Linked DNA regions of Homo sapiens: all the other regions are linked to region 3. The links are contacts of gene promoters, found by promoter capture Hi-C in human tissues and cell types (Jung and others, 2019). All regions are on one chromosome and are shown on one strand. The core of a region is centred on a gene start or on the middle of the fragment in contact, and the rest is flanking DNA. Distances in the headings are between cores, read along the strand shown. Region 1 overlaps CENPP (centromere protein P). Region 2 overlaps CENPP (centromere protein P). Region 3 holds the start of ECM2 (extracellular matrix protein 2).

What was found. Contacts are between HindIII fragments. The study calls those that stand out against the background at their distance.
Region 1: a fragment that was not itself captured here is called in contact with the fragment with the promoter of ECM2 in region 3 in 3 of the 25 tissues and cell types used here (aorta, heart left ventricle and hippocampus).
Region 2: a contact is called between a fragment that was not itself captured here and the fragment with the promoter of ECM2 in region 3, in 2 of the 25 tissues and cell types used here (aorta and heart left ventricle).

Annotation. Positions count from the first base shown.
Region 1 is chr9:92,570,564-92,575,624 of GRCh38, reverse strand. The region is part of intron 5 of CENPP (centromere protein P); the gene reads right to left. Among named protein-coding and RNA genes, the nearest start is that of ECM2, 37 kb to the right of the region's middle. The HindIII fragment of the contact is 4,400 bases long and covers 1-3,669 here.
Region 2 is chr9:92,497,664-92,502,311 of GRCh38, reverse strand. The region is part of intron 5 of CENPP (centromere protein P); the gene reads right to left. ECM2 (extracellular matrix protein 2) reads left to right here. Exons shown (of 10, transcript NM_001393.4): 9 at 1,259-1,585. Among named protein-coding and RNA genes, the nearest start is that of ASPN, 17 kb to the right of the region's middle. The HindIII fragment of the contact is 6,472 bases long and covers 1-4,648 here.
Region 3 is chr9:92,533,911-92,538,272 of GRCh38, reverse strand. It overlaps ECM2 (extracellular matrix protein 2), which reads left to right and starts at 2,283. Exons shown (of 10, transcript NM_001393.4): 1 at 2,283-2,340. All of the region lies in intron 5 of CENPP (centromere protein P), which reads right to left. The HindIII fragment of the contact is 14,623 bases long and covers 1-4,362 here.

The DNA.
Region 1 (5,061 bases), core at 220-2,719, 38 kb before region 3:
GGCCAGGCTGGTCTTGAACTCCTGACCTCGTGATCTGCCTGCCTTGGCCTCCCAAAGTGCTGAGATTACAGGCGTGAGCCACCGCGCCCAGCCTGGATAGGAGACATTCTAATGGGTGTGAGGTGGTATCTCACTGTATTTTAATTTGTAGCTCCCTAATGATTAGTGATGTTGAGCATCTCTTCATGTACTTAATGGCCATTTGTGTATATGTTCTTGGAGAAATGTCTATTCAAGTCCTTTGCCCATTTTTGAACAGAGTTGTTTTGGTGTTGAGTTTTAGGAGTTCTCTTTATATTCTGTATTATAATCCCTTATCAGATACATGATTTGCAAAATTTTGTCCTATTTGTGAGTTGCCTTTTCACTGTTCATAATGTCTGTTAGTACACAAAACTTTTACATTTTCACTAAGTCCAATCTGTCTCTTCTCCTTAAGTTGACTATACCTTTGCTGTCATATCTAAGAAATCACTTGCCAAATCCAATGTAGTGAAGCTTTTCCTGTTTTCTAAGACTATTATACTTTTAGGTTTTACATGTAGGTCTTTGATCCATTTTGAGTTAATTTTTGTATATGGTGTTAGCTAAGGTTCCAACTTCATACTTTTGCATGTGGATATCCAGATTTCCAGGCACCATGTGTTAAATGAATGTCATTTCCCCATTGAATGGTCTTGGCACATTAGTCAAAATTCATTTGACTAAGTACGGGTGGGTTCATTTTGGACTCTGTATTCTATTCCATTAGCCAATGTCTGTCTTTAAATCAGTCCTACATTGTTTTGATTATTGTAGCTTTGTAGTAAGTTTTGAAATTAAGAAATGAGTCCTCCAGCTTTGTTCTTTTTGAAGATTGTTTTGGCTACTCAGGGTCCCTTGAGATTCCATGTGAATTCTAGAATGAGTTTTTCTATTTCTGCGAAAAACATCACTGGAATTTTGATAGAGATTTCATTGAATCTGTAGATTGCTTTGAGTAGTACTGACATCTTAACACAGAGTCTTCCAATCCATGAATTTGGGACGTGTTTCCACTGATTTATGTCTTATTTTCTTTCAGCAATGTTTTGAAGTTTTCATTGTACAAATCTTTCACCTTCTTGGTTAATTCCTAGGTATTTTATTCTTTTTTTATGCTATTGTAACAAAATTGTTTTTGTAATTTCCTTTCCAGATATTGTTCACTGTTAGTGTATAGAAATCCAACCCATTTTTGTTATTGTTTTTCTAACCAATTTTAGTGTGTTCACTTTGTATTCTGCTACTTTGCTGAATTTATTTGTTTTCACAGGTTTTTGGGGGTAGAATCCTTAGTTTTTTACATATAGATCACATAATCTGTAAACATAATTTAACTTGTAGACAGCCTATAGTTACATCATTAAAAAAAATACATTCTGGGGGGAGGTTCCAAGATGGCTGAACAGGAACAGCTCCAGTCTATAGCTCCCAGCGTGAGCGATGCAGAAGACGGGTGATTTCTGCATTTCCAACTGAGGTACCGGGTTCATCTCACTAGGGCTTGTCGGACAGTGGGTGCAGCCCATGCAGCAGGGTGGGGCATCGCCTCACCTGGTAAGTGCAAGGGGTCAAGGAATTCCCTTTCCTAGCCAAGGGAAGCTGTGACAGATGGTACCTGGAAAATCGGGACACTCCCACTCTAATACTATGCTTTTCCAACGGTCTTAGCAAACGGCACACCAGGAGATTACATCCCGCGCCTGGCTCAGAGGGTTCCATGCCCACGAAGCCTCGCTCACTGCTAGCACAGCAGTCTGAGATCCAACTGCAAGGCGGCCGCGAGGCTGGGGGACAGGCATCCGCCATTGCTGAGGCTTGAGTAGGTAAACAAAGCAGCCGGGAAGCTCGAACTGGGTGGAGCCCACTGCAGCTCAGTAGGCCTGCCTGCCTCTGTAGACTCCACCTCTCGGGGCAGGGCATAGCTGAACAAAAGGCAGCAGAAGCTTCTGCAGACTTAAACATCCCTGTCTGACAGCTTTGAAGAGAGCAGTGGTTCCCCCAGCACGGAGTTTGAGATCTGAGAACGGACAGACCGCCTTCTCAAGTGGGTCCCTGACCCCCGAGTAGCCTAACTGGGAGACACCTCCAAGTAGGGGCCGACTGACACCTCATACAGCCCAGTGCCCCTCTGAGACAAAGCTTCCAGAGGAAGGATCAGGCAGCAACATTTGCCCTTCTGCAATATTTGCTGTTCTGCAGCATCCGCTGGTGATACCCAGGCAAAAAGGGTCTGGAGTGGACCTCCAGCAAACTCCAACAGACCTGCAGCTGAGGGTCCTGACTGTTAGAAGGAAAACTAACAAACAGAAAGGACATCCACACCAAAACCCCATCTGTACGTCACCATCATCAAAGACCAAAGGTGGATAAAACCACAAAGATGGGGAGAAACCAGAGCAGAAAAGCTGAAAATTCTAAAAATCAGAACGCCTCTTCTCCTCCAAAGGAACGCAGCTCCTCGCCAGCAAGGGAACAAAGCTGGACGGAGAATGACTTTGACGAGTTGAGAGAAGAAGGCTTCAGACGACTGGTAATAACAAACTTTGCTGAGCTAAAGGAGGATGTTCGAACCCATCGCAAAGAAGCTAAAAACCTTGAAAAAAAGATTAGACGAATGGCTAACTAGAATAAACAGCATAGAGAAGACCTTAAATGACCTGATGGAGCTGAAAACCATGGCACAAGAACTACATGACACATGCACAAGCCTCAGTAGCCGATTTGATCAAGTGGAAGAAAGGGTATCAGTGATTGAAGATCAAATGAATGAAATGAAGTGAGAAGAGAAGTTTAGAGAAAAAAAGAATAAAAAGAAATGAACAAAGCCTCCAAGAAATATGGGACTATGTGAAAAGACCAAATCTACATCTGATTGGTGTACCTGAAAGTGACGGGGAGAATGGAACCAAGTTGGAAAACACTCTGCAGGATATTATCCAGGAGAACTTCCCCAACATAGCAAGGCAGGCCAACATTCAAATTCAGGAAATACAGAGAACGCCACAAAGATACTCCTCGAGAAGAGCAACTCCAAGACACATAATTGTCAGATTCACCAAAGCTGAAATGAAGGAAAAAATGTTAAGAGCAGCCAGAGAGAAAGGTCGGGTTACCCACAAAGGGAAGCCCATCAGACTAACAGCGGATCTCTCGGCAGAAACTCTACAAGCAAGAAGAGAGTGGGGGCCGATATTCAACATTCTTAAAGAAAAGAATTTTCAACCCAGAATTTCATATCCAGCCAAACTAAACTTCATAAGTGAAGGAGGAATAAAATCCTTTACAGACAAACAAATGCTGAGAGATTTTGTCACTGCCAGGCCTGCCTTACAAGAGCTCCTGAAGGAAGCACTAAATGTGGAAAGGAACAACCGGTACCAGTTACTGCAAAAACGTGCCAAATTGTAAAGACCATCAATGCTAGGAAGAAACTGCATCAACTCACCAGCAAAATAACCAGCTAACATCATAATGACAGGATCAAATTCACACATAAAAGTATTAACCTTAAATGTAAATGGGCTAAATGCTCCAATTAAAAGGCACAGACTGGCAAATTGGATAAAGAGTCAAGACCCATCTGTGTGCTGTATTCAGGAGACCCATCTCATGTGCAGAGACACACATAGGCTCAAAATAAAGGAATGGAGAAGGATCTACCAAGCAAATGGAAAACAAAAAAAAAAAAAAAAAGAGGAGTTGCAATCCTAGTTGCTGATAAAACAGACTTTAAACCAACAAAGGTCAAAAGAGACAAAGAAGGCCATTACATAATGGTAAAGGGATCAATTCAACAAGAAGAGCTAACTATCCTAAATATATATGCACCCAATACAGGAGCACCCAGATTCATAGAGCAAGCCCTTAGAGACCTACAAAGAGACTTAGACTCCCACAGAATAATAATGGGAGACTTTAACACCCCACTATCAACATTAGACAGATCAATCAGACAGAAAGTTAACAAGGATATCCAGGAATTGAACTGAGCTCTGCACCAAGCAGACCTAAAAGACATCTACAGAACTCTCCACTCCAAATCAACAGAATATACATTCTTCTCAGCACCAAATTGCACTTACTCCAAAATTGACCACATAGTTGGAAGTAAAGCACTCCTAAGCAAATGTAAAAGAACAGAAATTATAACAAACTGTCTCTCAGACCACAGTGCAATCAAACTAGAACTCAGGATTAAGAAACTCACTCAAAACCGCTCAACTACATGGAAACTGAACAACCTGCTCCTGAATGACTAATGGGTACATAACGAAATGAAGGCAGAAATAAAGATGTTCTTTGAAACCAATGAGAACAAAGACACAACATACCAGAATCTCTGGGACACATTTAAAGCAGTGTGTAGAGCGAAATTTATAGCACTAAATGCCCACAAGAGAAAGCAGGAAAGATCTAAAATCGACACCCTAACATCACAATTAAAAGAACTAGAGAAGCAAGAGCAAACACATTCAAAAGCTAGCAGAAGGCAAGAAATAACTAAGATCAGAGCAGAACTGAAGGAGATAGAGACACAAAAAACCCTTCAAAAAAATCAATGAATCCAGGAGCTGGTTTTTTGAAAAGATCAACAAAATTGATAGACTGCTAGCAAGACTAATAAAGAAGAAAAGAGAGAAGAATCAAATAGATGCAATAAAAAATGATAAAGGGGATATCACCACCAATCCCACAGAAATACAAACTACTATCAGATAATACTATAAACACCTCTATGCAAATAAACTAGAAAATCTAGAAGAAATGGATAAATTCCTGGACACATACACCCTCCCAAGACTAAACCAGGAAGAAGTTGAATCTCTTAATAGACCAATAACAGACTCTGAAATTGAGGCAATAATTAATAGCCTACCAACCAAAAAAAGTCCAGGACCAGACGGATTCACAGCCGAATTCTACCAGAGGTACAAAGAGGAGCTGGTACCATTCCTTCTGGAACCATTTCAAACAACAGAAAAACAGGGAATCCTCCCTAACTCATTTTATTAGGCCAGCATCATCCTGATACCAAAG
Region 2 (4,648 bases), core at 876-3,375, 36 kb after region 3:
ACTGGTGTTAGGATTATTGCAGTAACTACTGTTGTTGTCACCATACTGCATACTGGACACCCTATCATATGCCAAGTGCTGAGCTAGCAAGAACTGAGCCCCAGCTGTCTGACTTCGAGGTCTGCCCACTAGTGGTCAAATGCCACTCTAGCTCTGTCTACCTCACAGGTTGTCAGGAGGTTTGAATGAAGGATTATTCCCCTGCACACAGTGAGAAAGAAATCTGCCATACTCCTTCTCCTCATCATCATTAGGTGGAAGCACCAGGCTCCAGAGCCCAGGCCTGTTCTCCTACACTACACAGCCTTCTTTTCTCCAAACTATTTCTTCACCTCAACTCTTACAAAATAGACTGAAGAATGCTTGGCCTAACAGTGCAGGCCAAAAGTAGACTCTGTCTTCCTGGACAAGAATCAGCAGCCTCTGGCTATAGCTTTCAGTGAAGGGGGAGGGAGTCAGAAGCAAGCCCTGCAGCAAATCCAGCAGACAACTGGGATCTGGGATTGCGTGTCCTGGAACTATGTGCCTAAGTAGCACAGCCTGGGACACGTGTCATTCAGAAGCAGGATGGAGAGGCCAATTGGGCTCAGCAGCATGTGGCACTGAGCCCACTGTAGGCAGAGAAGTCTTCATCAGGTGAAAAGAGGGCGTGGGGCAGAAGCCTTAGGAGACTCAGGTGGGGTTCCTGAAACAAGCCAGTGAGTTCACCACGTTCCCCAGATCTTCTAGATGATTAACAGCATTTTCTAGATTCCCTCAGGCTCGCCTCAAGTCCCAGGTGTGCCAGGTCATCAAATCAAATGTGGAATGAAAATGTAGGGGAAGGGGAACCAAAACAAGCCAAAACAAACCAAACTTCCTTGCTGGAACCAGAGACAACTTTACAGATAGGCATTTAGATGCATGCTGGGATTCACGGGATTTCATTTTGGATTCAACGCATCAACCGTACAGATATTTTAGTCTTTGGGCCTCAGTATTGCCTCTAGGGATATGAGTTTTTCCCTCCTAGTCTTTGATGCTCCTCTCGCATGGACTCACATAGCTGGGAGGCAGTATGGCACCCTGGTAAGGACATGCAGCTTGGTGCAAGAGACTAGGGCTGGCTATACCTGGAAAAGTTCCTATTTGGAATCATCACTACAAACTGGGTGCTTATAGGAAAATGGACCAGCATCGAGACTGGCCTTATCAAAATTTAGAGCTGATGATCACCATCCTGATGTCCCTACCCTGTTTACTTTTTTCTTTGCTGCAGAAATCTAGAATCCATTGATCTCTCCTACAACAAGCTCTATCACGTCCCGTCCTATCTACCCAAGTCCTTGCTGCACCTAGTACTCCTTGGGAACCAGATTGAACGGATCCCTGGCTATGTGTTTGGCCACATGGAACCAGGCCTGGAATACTTGTACCTGTCATTTAACAAACTTGCTGATGATGGCATGGACCGTGTCTCCTTCTATGGGGCATATCATTCTCTGAGAGAATTATTTCTGGATCACAATGACTTAAAATCTATACCACCTGGGATACAAGAAATGAAAGCACTACATTTTCTGAGGCTGAACAACAACAAGATACGGTAAATTTTGGCTTTTTCAAGTATCTGTTTAAATTTTGGTTGGCAAAATATATGATAAAACAACCATGACATGATCTCTGGGATTTACGTTAAGGGAAAAAAAAATGGTGCTAAGGGGTTGGATTAAACAAGATTGGCAAATGTTAGTAATTACCAAAGGTGGATGACAGGTATGTGAGGATTCATTATAAGCTTTTCCTACTTTTGCACATGTTTATAAATTTCCATAGTTAAAACATCTTTTGGTCAGGTGCAGTGGCTCACGCCTGTAATTCCAGCACTTTGGGACGCCAAGGCGGGCGGATCACCTGAGTTCAAGAGTCTGAGGCCAGCCTGGCCAACATGGTGAAACCTCGTTTCTACTAAAAATACAAAACTTAGCAGGGCGTGGTGGTGCGTGTCTGTAATGCCAGCTACTCAGGAGGCTGAGGTGGGAGAATTGTTTGAACCTGGGAGGCAGAGGTTGCAGTGAGCCGGGATGGTGCCACTGCACTCCAGCCTGGGTGACAGAGTGAGACTCCATCTCAAAAAAAAGATTAACAGATTATTATATATAACACTTAGAACTTTAGAGAGAGGTTCAAATGAGTCTTCAAAGCAATAGATTATGTTACTACTCCTACCTCCATGTATAAATAAATAAAACTAATCTATAAAGCATAAAACGTAAATATATGCTAAAATTAAAACTGCTTCTATCTAGTTTTTTCTGAAGTCAGATTTCTGAATACATTTATTAAGACTCACTTTCCCTACTTTTGGGAACACATTTTTCTGCATGTGTTCAGCTTATATACTGAATCATCACTCCTGCCTAGATGGCATGAGTGTCTTGAGAATTAATCCAGAATATTTTGTTAGTAAGGTCTTTATCATTGGCAGTGAGGGAGACAATAACCTTGTTGTTCTGTCCCTGAGAATTATGCCTCTTAGTCTTTCCCCTTCTCTAAAAGTCCAAATAAACTAAATGCCTACAAAGACAAAACAAAAACACAGAAAAGTTCGTGTTTTTAAAGGTACTGGAGGAAGAGATGGGGGTTTGGGAAGACTTTGTAAAATTCAGTTTCAAAATTTTTTGGCAAAAATACTTCACAGGTTGTGCCATATGCTTCATACTGCATTGCATCAGAAGGCGTCTAATGTTTGTCCCACCTTTTTTGATTCTAAAATTGATCACTGGATTGAAGTGGTCACAGCCTGGTATCTCCTAAGACAAATTTACTCCTCCATCATTGAACCAATGGTTTCACTCACAGATGAATGTTGTTTGAATTCTTATTTCATTAGAGGTAACAAAATGATGAATTTCTATTTTTGCCATGCTTCTCATGCTCATTAGCTGGAATTCCTCTGTAAAAAATTTTTTGCTCATCAACTAGGGCTGCTTTGTCACTTTGAAAGGAAAGAAAAAAGCTCAGTTCTTTCCTTTAAACCACCAGTGGGAGTAAGAAGTTGGAGCCTGAATGTTTTTGCTTTATTTTGTTTTAGGGTTCTCTCTTTTTCTGGTGAATCAATATATACTTAGGCTTTCATGTAAGCAGTTATGTTTCAATCAATTGCAGTCATCTGGACAATGGTCGCCATTCAAACTGGCTCTTGTGTCTGCTCACTTGCTTTTGGGCACACGTGGGCCTCAGGCTTACTTTCTGCATTACCTACTGCAGACCTTCCTCCAAAGAGCTTGGCCTCTTTCTTTGGGGAATAGTATTGAGAAGCCCCAAGTGGGAACGAGACGTGGTCCTTTCAATTGTGTTGCTATTGTTTTGAGGCCTTTCAGTGGACTGCCAGGAAATTCCGTATTTTGAAAAGAAAGTAAGTTCAGACTGACATTCCCAAATCAAATTTAACATAATTGAATATTAATTCCTTTTATTAAAACTTGTTTCTCTTACACTGAAAATCTAGGTTCCCAACAATATTAACTTGGATGATCTTACAATATGTAAACAATTGTTTCAAAATGACATCATTATTACTGCTCATAATAAAAGCTTGAAGTTTATTATTTTTTGGTAGCTCTATTTGTCTTTAGGATAAGTTCCACTAAAGAAGTACAGCTGAAATACAGTGGTTTCCTCTGTAATATGTCAACAACTTAATATTCAGACATGTTATTTAGTTTATTTTTGGTTTTTAGAAATTGCTCTTTTCTTTTTGAATTAATATTATTTTTGACTGTGTTAAATATTTTTAATTCCAAAGTCAAAACTGTGTAAGAAGTTGAATTAAGAGAAGTCTTACTTCTATGATTGTCTTTTTTTAATATATATATATTTTCTTTTTACTATACTTTTAGGGTACATGTGCACAACGTGCAGGTTTGTTACATATATATACATGTGCCATGTTGGTGTGCTGTACCCATTAACTCTTCATTTAATATTAGGTATACCTCCTAATGCTATCCCTCCCCCAACGTCTATGATTGTCTTTTATACACTATATGATCCTTCCCATAGGTTAAATTTTTAAATTTCTAGTTTATCCTTCCAGTATTTATTTTTGCAAACAAAAGCCTACATACATATACATATTTCCCCATCCCCATCCATAATTATTATACAAATTATTACACAAAAGGGCAGTTTTCTCTCTATATATGTCTTAGTCCAATTCTGATGCTATAAAGTAATGCCCAAGGCTGGGTAATTTATAAAGAGAAAAGGTTTATTTGGCTCATGGTTCTTCAGGCTGTGCAAGTAGCACGGCACTGGCATCTGCATCTGGTGAGGGCCTTCAGGCTGCTTCCACTCATGGTGGAAGGGGAGATGGAGTGTGTAGAGATTACATGGCAAGAGAGGAGGCAAAAAAGAATGGGGAGGTGCCAGACTTCTTTTTTTTTTTTTTTTTTTAAACAACCAGCTCTTATGGGAATTAATAGAACAAGAACTTACTCACTCCCCTGATCCTAGAGAGGATATCAATCTATTCATGAGTGACTTGCCCCCCATGACCCAAACACCTCCCATTAAGCACCACCTCCAACACTGGGGATCAAATTTCAACATGAGATTTGGAGGGGTCAAAAAAACCAAACCTTATGGGGTATGTGTATTTTTTCTA
Region 3 (4,362 bases), core at 1,034-3,533:
CAACTATGCATGGTGGTATTAATGGAGTTACTTCTGTTTCTCCAAATAGCTTTATGGTAAGCCCACTTTGTTCTCTATCTATACACAACTGGGTTAACTTTTTTTCTAATCCATGGTTACAGTACTTCAGAGTACTTCCTTGAAGGCACACTTTTGTACAGAAAGAGGTGTTTCTACAATGGGTTCCTAGAGGTGAAATGGTAGGACAGACAGCATAGCTACTGTTCAGCTGTCCTCAAGGAAGAGGAGAGTTTCTGTTTTCCCTACACACTGGCCAACACAGCATATCATCAACATTTTTTTCCCCCAAAAAACAATGTATGTATTTCAAATCAGGCCATGATTTTTGATTAGCAGTGGTCTTCAAGCTTGATTGAGCATTGGCATTATTTGGGTAATTTTTCTACCCCCAAAGTTTTGTCAGCAACATCTCACTATGGTAGTGAAAAAATAACCTTCCTGTTTTAATTTACTTTTCTTGACTGTTACTGAGATTGAGAAATCTTCCTCTTCTGTTTTATTGACCACTGACATTTCCTCTTCTATGAACTGCCTGTTTAATGGTGTTTGCTCATTTGTACTCATCTTTTTCTTTTCTTTTCTTTTCTTTTTTGAGATGTAGTCTCGCTCTGTTGCCCAGGCTGGAGTGCAATGGCACAATCTTGGCTCACTGCAACCTCCGCCTCCTAGGTTCAAGTGATTCTCCTACCTCAGCCTCCTGAGTAGCTGGGACTACAGGCATGTGCTACCATACTCGGCTAATTTTTGTACTGTTAGTAGAGACGGGGTTTCACATGTTGGCCAGGCTGGTCTCAAACTCCTAACCTCAGGTGATCCACCTGTCTCTGCCTCCCAAAGTGCTGGGATTACAGGTGTGAGCCACTGCACTCAGCTAGTTTTACATTTTTAAAAATAGATATCATTTTCCTTATTTTTAGGAAGTTGAGTGGCTTATGTATTTAGTCCCTTATCTTGATTCAGTCTATCTAGGTCATTTTACAAAATCCTGATTCAGTCTAACCACGTCATTTAAACAAATATTTAGCTCCTCTTTGCCAAATGATTTGGACCCCTGAAATAACGATATAAGAATTTCAGGCCAGGTGCGGTGGCTCATGCCTGTAATCCCAGCACTTTGGAAGGCCGAGGTGGGTGGATCACATGAGGTCAAGAGTTCGAGACCAGCCTGGCCAACATGGTGAAACCCCATCTCTACTAAAAAAAAAAATACAAAAATTAATCTGGCATGGTGGCAGGCGCCTTTAAGCCCACCTACTCGGGAAGCTGAGGCAGGAGAATCCCTTGAACCTGGGAGGCGGAGGTTTCAGTGTGCTGAGATCACGACATTGCACTCTAGCCTGGGCAACAGAGCAAAAACTCCCGTCTCAAAAAAAAAAAAAAAATTTAAAAAATAGTTCTAAAATTACCTAGTCTAGGATAGGCACTGAGTTAGGACCTTCATATCTGTTATTCCTTTTATTTTCAGAAAAATTTGAAAGGTATCACCCTAGTTTTACAGAAGAGTGAACTTTGGTCAGAAACATTAAGTAACTTACTCAAGGTCCCTCATAAACAGCAGGGTTGCGCTTGGAATCCTGATCTGTCTCTAACTTCTCATTTGCAGATAAAGAAACTGAGGCCAAAGTACACAACTAATTTGCCAGCGTAACAGGTAATTAGGAGCCACACAGCTCCCTTTCACATTTTCTTTCTATTATTTCATGGTTAGAAGTTACATAATTTCCACTGATATTAATACGTAACCATTTTTTTGTTGTTGTCGTTTTGTTAGTATTGTGTGTGAGATCGAGGTGGGTGGGCAGATGAGTTAAATATTATTAATCCAATTTAAAATAGATTCCAGATATACACAGCCTTTAGCTGACGAGAATATCATCCCTATAATCTGATAAAGCTCAAGTGACATCATCCTGGCTAGTATAAACTTTAACATTTTTAATGCGAATAGTCTATGAAAACCACAGATTTCTTAATCAAGCTCATTTTTGTGTTTCCAACTCTGCCTTTTCAGCCTGCAAACAAAATGCTCTTCCCCCACACCCACTGCTGTTTTCTACTTTTCTTATGATTAAAAAAAATATTTCCCTTGGTAACCATTTTCCCTGGTTACTTTCTTGGCTGATTTTCTGCACAAAGAACTGAAAGGCATTTATCCCCAAGGGAGGCAGTTATTTTAGATTTTACTAAGAAGTTCAGCAAATACTTTTCAACATTCCCTTCTGTCCTTTCTTTGTTTTTAAAGAAAGCTCTGATTTTGTTTCATTTTCAGCTGGAGACTTAAATGACACCAAGCAAAGCCTACTTAGTTTAGATCTCCAGGTAAAAAAGTTTTAAATTTTAAGTTTCTACTTAGCATGTGGAATGGTTTTAATATTTGGGTATTTTATTTCACAACTGTTTAACTCTTGAGTAAATTAGCTCGTTACTAATAGATTTTTAAAGTTCAAAGTATGCATTATTCTGTTTGTTTTTTTCACGATGTACTTCCCAAGTATTTCAGACCTTGTATACTTAGTATTAAATTATTTTTATATGTTTAGGTGGAATTATGTGTTCAATAGAAGTATAAATTGGTTTGAAAATATTATTAATTTTTAAGTCCTAAAAGAACATAAATAATTCAAAATATTTTTCATTTTAAATCTGTTGAATGAAGTGAAAATAGATAATAGACATCTCATGACTTCATGTAGAATTTTAAAATTCTAAATTAATATTTTTAAAGTTTACTTAAGATAACTGGTAAGAAATTTTAAATGAAGAAAAATAAGTTAATCAAGGTTTATAAATAATATTTAATGTTGGGATAAACACAGTAAGTGCTAGAAGGAAAAAAATTACTTGATAAAAATGATACTATGATTGGAATCCCAGAAAATTTACCTCTAGGAGGCAAACACTCAATTACGAAGTTGTTTATGAAAGCAAATATTAAGTGCAAAGCAAAATTCTGTATATCAATGAAAATAATGAGGGCCTAAGCATTAATAGTAAAATTAGTATTGAGAGACCATTTCCTAAAATGTATTTAAACACTGTAGTGAGACTGTTTAGATACTGATTTTGTCAAAATTCAAATAGCTCTGTAAGTTTATTTCTGTGCCTATCTATTTAGATTTCTGGGTAAGTAAAAGTGAGTCAATTTGGGGGAAAAAAAGAAAGAGAGGTAGTTTCCAGAATGAGGATACTGGGAGAGAGGGGTGTGCTCAGAATGGCCACAGCTGGCACATTCACACTCCTAAGCACTCAATCAGGCAATGCCCCATAAGTGAGTGCTTTCAGGATGCCTCAGGACAGCAGGATGCCTGAGACCCTCATGAGAGTTTAACTCTAGAGCCTCGAGGTCTAGGCCCTGACTCCTCACAACAGGATGGAAGGTCTGCACATACAATTGTTAATGCAAGAAAATTTCAATGTATACATTTCATGCATTGCAGAGCACTTATGATATCCATCAGAGCACACTTGCCATGCCACTCAGCAAATTCTAGTTTCACTTTGTCTCTCAGTTCAGGTTTTCATATTGCTTTCCCCTGCTGTTGTTGTTATTCCCTTCCAACATACTACTTTGCTCTCTGAATTGACTTTTATGATTTCAGGTGCCAATCAGCTAATGGATTTGGTCCTTCTTTACATGCTGCATGTTAATTTTTCTAAAACTAAAGTAGATTGCAAAAAGTTGTTCAAAAAGTTGTTCCAGTAACCTATGAAATATAGGTCATTTCAATAACCTATAGTAATGGTTTTCAAATGACTGTGGCAATTAATGTATATATACGCTGAAGAAAGGTTTGTATGCTGGCATGAAGATACTTTAGAGACTGCCGTTTGTTGAACAAAGGTGATGTGGCAAGTCAGACTATGAACTAACTAAGTGAAACCTGACTAGAGGAAGATGATTCTGGCAGATGAAGTTATAAAAAGAAGTACTGAGATTCAAGAGGGGAAACTGAGCTGACCTTGTGCCCTCTTCCCCTCTCACCAACTCCCTTGAAATAATACAAGATATATTACAGACAAATAAATGCACGAATATACAGCTACACTAGGAAATAAAAAGGGGAGCTCCTGGTGGGACAGACACTCTGAGGAGTCCTTCACAGACAAAGAGAAGACAGAAATGAATTTAAAGAGGAAAAATGTACCCTTGAACAGTCATGGGAGAAAACAGAGTGAAGAGAGCTTGTATAGGAAAAAAAGAAGTTTTTAGTTTAAAAGATCCCAAGAAGGATACATTAAACAGCAAAAACAACCTATACCAAGGTACATTCCATTCTTTTACCAAGGTAAAACTTCCAAATATCAAAGATATGTTGAAAATTTGAAAAAAATTTCTATAGA